Linked DNA regions of Homo sapiens: region 1 is linked to region 2. The links are contacts of gene promoters, found by promoter capture Hi-C in human tissues and cell types (Jung and others, 2019). All regions are on one chromosome and are shown on one strand. Each heading gives the region's core, a stretch centred on a gene start or on the middle of the fragment in contact. The rest is flanking DNA. Distances are from core to core; before and after follow the strand shown.

Region 1 (2,700 bases), core at 76-2,575, 450 kb before region 2:
AGATTATAGACATGAGACATCGCGCCCAGCTGAAAACATGGATTCTCTTTATATCCTGATACTTCAATTTTTAAAACACTCCTGTTTTAATAGGCATTTTTGCTGATTTTCTTATTTTAGGATCCTTTTCCCAGTTTAAAATCTTATAAAAGACAACCCTTTGTATATATGAGAAAAGCCTTTTCTGAAAACATACACATTCCATTATTATCTTGAGATTTAGATGCCTTTTGATTCAGTGTTTAAATAATTCCAAGCTAGTCATTATTATTTTTGACAGAGTCTCGCTCTGTCACCTAGGCTGGAGTGCATTGGCGTGATCTCGGCTCACTGCACTGTCTGCCTCCTGGGTTCAAGCGATTCTCCGGTCTAAGCCTTCCGAGTAGTTGGGATTACAGGTGCGCCCCACTGTGCTTGGCTAATTTTTGTATTTTTAGTAGAGACAGGGTTTCACCATGTTGGCCAGGCTGGTCTCAAGCTCCTGGCCTCAAGTGTTTCGCCCACCTTGGCCTCCCAAAGTGCTAGGATTACAGGCGTGAGCCACCGTGCCCATTCCAAGCTAATTGTTTATGTAAGAATTGCACATGGGCCGGGTGCGGTGGCTGACGCTTGTAATCCCAGCACTTTGGGAGTCCGAGACGGGTAGATCACCTGAGGTCAGGAGTTCTAGACTAGCCTGGCCAACATGGTGAAACTCCGTCTCTACCAAAAATACAACAATTAGCTGGATGTGGTGGCACGCGCCTGTAATCCCAGCTACTGGGGAGGCTGAGGCAGGAGAATCGCTTGAACCCAGGAGGTGGAGGTTGCAGTGAGCCAAGATCTTGCCATTGCACTCCAGCCTGGGTAACAAGAGTGAAACTCTGTCTCACACACACGCACGCACACACACACACACAAATTGCACATAGTAAAAGAATGGGAGAAAACAGATTTATAGTCTTAATGGTGTGAGAACACTGGTTTCTGTGGGTAGTACAGAAGTTTCCAACTCACCTGAAAATGAATGGTAGGTTGAGTGTATCCTGTGCCCTATGTTTCTGCTTAAATTGAGCAGCTTTATTTTATTATTTTTTTTTGAGACAGAGTCTTGCTCTGTTGCCCAGACTGGAGTGCAGTGGTGCAGTCTCGGCTCACTGCAACCTCTGCCTCCTGGGTTCAAGCAATTCTCCTGCCTCAGTGTCCTGAGTAGCTGGGACTACAGGTATGTGCCAAGACGCCTGGCTAATTTTTGTATTTTTAGTAGAGATGGGGTTTCACCATGTTGGCCAGGCTGGTAATTTTTTGTGGAGACTGGGTTTCACCATGTTAGCCAGGATGGTCTCAATCTCTTGACCTCATGATCCGCCCACCTTGGCCTCCCAAAGTGTTAGGATTGCAGGCGTGAGCCACTGCACCCGGCCTGAGCAGCTTTAAGTAGATTTTAAAATTATATATATTCTTTAATGTGAAGATGTTGTGATTCTCATTTTTGGTGATTAGCACACCAACAAATGGGAAAGGATTGCAAATTCTTAGATTTATTTAAAAGCGTAGAACTAAGCTTCTCGTGAAGCTAGATGAATAGAAACACGGAGCATCTATAAACTGGATTAAACATAGGGGGGTACAAACCTCCTGGATATTTTTAATTCTTAGGAAGAAGGAGAATTTAGCACCAGACTCTTGAAAAGCAGTGGCATGAAAGTTAGTTTGATATATTGTTTGAGTTTGTATTGCCTTAGGCCCTGAATCAAGACCAATGGTTTGCTGTAGCTGTTGGTTTCAAACAGGAGCTAAGAGTGATGTCTTCCTTGTGGTCTGTTGGCTATTCAGTATTCCAGTGCGAATTGCCAATTCAGTTGGAAGAAACATAGTCTAGAATGTAATGTCATTTTTTTTTTTTTTTTTTTTACAGAGCAAAACTATGTTAGGCTTAAGAACCAGGGAGTTGGCCGGGCGTGGTGGCTCATGCCTGTAATCCCAGCACTTTGGGAGGCTGAGGTGGGCCAATCACTGGTCGGGAGATCAAGGCCATCCTGGCTAACATGGTGAAACCCTGTCTCTACTAAAAATACAAAAAATTAGCTGGGCGTGGTGGCACACGCCCATAGTCCCAGCTACTGGGGAGGCTGAGGCAGGAGAATCACTTGAACCCAGGAGGCGGAGGTTGCAGTGAGCCGAGATCACGTCACTGCACTCCAGCCTGGGCGACAGAGCGAGACTCTGTCTCAAAAAAAAAAAAAACAAAACAAAAAAAACCAGGTTGTTGCTCTGTCGGGATAGGGACTTAACCAAAATAATATTTCCTAGCCATTCAGAGGAACTGTGAGTTTTCTGTTGTCCTTCCTTTCTTCCTACCTTCTCCCTTTCCCTTGTTGGAGCTTGTTTGCTTGCTTTGTGGCTGTTAGGATATTAATCAGGCAATCTTGTATTACCCAGCAATATTTAATTTTAACGTAGCATTGTTCATATTTAAATTAATCACTGGTGAACTTACATGTTCATTACAGGTAGCCTCAGAGAATATGCTTTTTTAAAAAATATTTTTTTAATTGTAGTAAAACATACATAACAAAATTTTACTCTTTTAACCTATGTATGTATGTGTGTAAGTAGGTGGGTAGGTAGAGATGGAGTCTTGCTGTGTCACCCAGGCTGGTCTTGAATTCCTGGCCTCAAGTGATCCTCCCACTTCGGCTTCCCAAGGTGTTGTTATCA
Region 2 (2,700 bases), core at 42-2,541:
GGAATATACTTATCATCTATAAGCATCTGAAGATGAGGATGGGTGCAGTAGCTCACATCTGTAATCCCAGCACTTTGGGAGGCCAAGGCAGGAGAATCACTTAAAGCCAGAAGTTCAAGACCAGCACAGGTGACATAGTGAGTACCTGTCTCTATAAATTCTTAAAAAAAAAAAAAAAAGTATAAGCATCTGAAGGTGGAAGGGATCTGATACATCTTAGCTCCAAAACAACATGAAAAGTATAAGACAGACTTAATATGAACATAACAACTTCCTAAAAGTTACAATAGAGAGATAAGAGCATAAGAATTGTGACCGCTCATTCTTTGAAAATGGAAAAAGAACAAGATTTGTTGCCAGAGACAAAGAGACAGTTGAAAGTTCTCTGAAGGTCCATTCTAGAAAGGTTAGATATATGCCCTGCTCATAGCTTCCCTTTTCACACAGGGATGGTTGGATCCTTTCCACCCAATTGTGTGTAACCGTAAATTCCAGCCCCAGGAGGAAAACCATCTCCTATTAGGAAGGCATGCATGAGCCCCCACCCAGCCCTCAGCTCCAGCATGCACAGCATGGGTGGCTGCGGTAGCAGCAGCAACTGCTGGGCGAGTGAGTCTGGGAAGAGGTGGGTGACTGGGAAGAGCTTGACATGACTGTCTCCAAAAAGGTGCAAATCACTGTTAGCTGAGGGACAATTGTGAGGATTAGAATGTTTTTATTTTCCCTGAAACTTCAACCCATTCATCATTTTAAATTAGGTACACAGAGGTTGAGCATTTTTGCTTCTAGAAAAATACACCTTCAAATATCTCAAGTGCTTCCTAAATACAATCTTCTATAACCTGATAGCCACCAGCCCTTTCCCTCACACACTCCATTCTTCAATTCCTAAAACTTTTCCTCAGTTGGCATGGTCCCAGACCCAATTATCTTATTTTTTCACCTCTGAATACATCCTGGTTAATGGCTAATCCTTCAATATTGAGGGCTCTGGAGCAGATGCAATACTTCACTTGATGCCTGATGAAACCAGAGTAAAGAACATTACAACCAGCACTTTCTTCATCTGTTGATATTATGATTCTATGTATGCAGCCTGTGATGACCCTGGCATTTTCACCACCCCGTAACACTGCCAAATTACTAGTTTACTAAGTTCCAAAAGGTTGACCACCATTCATCCATCCTGTTTTATAATTGGGCTTCTGGGACCAAGTGGGTACCTTCTATTACCCCACAGCTATACCCTTGTGCTTTTCCCATCATCTTTCCTCCTCAAACAGGCCCCAGATGCTAAGGAATGGCAGCATAGTGACGGAATTTATCCTCGTGGGCTTTCAGCAGAGCTCCACTTCCACACGAGCATTGCTCTTTGCCCTCTTCTTGGCCCTCTACAGCCTCACCATGGCCATGAATGGCCTCATCATCTTTATCACCTCCTGGACAGACCCCAAGCTCAACAGCCCCATGTACTTCTTCCTCGGCCATCTGTCTCTCCTGGATGTCTGCTTCATCACCACTACCATCCCACAGATGTTGATCCACCTCGTGGTCAGGGACCACATTGTCTCCTTTGTATGTTGCATGACCCAGATGTACTTTGTCTTCTGTGTTGGTGTGGCCGAGTGCATCCTCTTGGCTTTCATGGCCTATGACCGTTATGTTGCTATCTGCTACCCACTTAACTATGTCCCGATCATAAGCCAGAAGGTCTGTGTCAGGCTTGTGGGAACTGCCTGGTTCTTTGGGCTGATCAATGGCATCTTTCTCGAGTATATTTCATTCCGAGAGCCCTTCCGCAGAGACAACCACATAGAAAGCTTCTTCTGTGAGGCCCCCATAGTGATTGGCCTCTCTTGTGGGGACCCTCAGTTTAGTCTGTGGGCAATCTTTGCCGATGCCATCGTGGTAATTCTCAGCCCCATGGTGCTCACTGTCACTTCCTATGTGCACATCCTGGCCACCATCCTCAGCAAAGCCTCCTCCTCAGGTCGGGGGAAGACTTTCTCTACTTGTGCCTCTCACCTGACTGTGGTCATCTTTCTCTACACTTCAGCTATGTTCTCTTACATGAACCCCCACAGCACACATGGGCCTGACAAAGACAAACCTTTCTCCCTCCTGTACACCATCATTACCCCCATGTGCAACCCCATCATTTATAGTTTCCGCAACAAGGAAATTAAGGAGGCCATGGTGAGGGCACTTGGAAGAACCAGGCTGGCCCAGCCACAGTCTGTCTAGCAGGAAGGCCCTGAAAGGAAAGCTCCTTCACCTGGGGAATGGGAGAGTTACCCCATCCCCAGCCCTGGCAGATGAGTAACTCTCCTATGCTGAAAGGCTCCAGGAAAGAGCGTTCATGGCTTCCTTGGCACTAGAATCAGACCTGAAAGTTCCTCCTGATGTCCAATGTCCTGATGTTATCTCTCTGACTTCACTTCCACATTGTTTTTTCTTGGACCTTCCTCGGGAGAATTTCGGATTTTCCTTAGTTTTTTTCCTCAGTTTCTTTTCCTCTTAAGTTCTCACAACAGGATTCAATAAATAAGTGCACTTAACTCCATTTTATTTGTATATACCTTTACATGCTAGTCCCCCAACCTGAGTTTCGTACATACATTTAGAAATAAACTCTTTTATTTTTCAGCTCTTCATTTTACTGTTTTTCTTTCTCAAATTCCACTCTCACTTCCTGGGTCT

What was found. Contacts are between HindIII fragments. The study calls those that stand out against the background at their distance.
Region 1: a fragment that was not itself captured here is called in contact with the fragment with the promoter of OR10AD1 in region 2 in 1 of the 25 tissues and cell types used here (pancreas).

What each region holds. Positions count from the first base shown.
Region 1 is chr12:48,655,804-48,658,503 of GRCh38, reverse strand. All of the region lies in intron 8 of KANSL2 (KAT8 regulatory NSL complex subunit 2), which reads left to right. SNORA2A (small nucleolar RNA, H/ACA box 2A) reads left to right here and starts at 1,722; the gene lies at 1,722-1,856. The HindIII fragment of the contact is 5,884 bases long and covers 1-2,700 here.
Region 2 is chr12:48,201,883-48,204,582 of GRCh38, reverse strand. It overlaps OR10AD1 (olfactory receptor family 10 subfamily AD member 1), which reads left to right and starts at 1,291. Exons shown (of 1, transcript NM_001004134.1): 1 at 1,291-2,244. The coding sequence starts at 1,291. The coding sequence ends at 2,244. All of the region lies in intron 1 of LOC102725258 (a long non-coding RNA gene), which reads right to left. The HindIII fragment of the contact is 6,629 bases long and covers 1-2,601 here.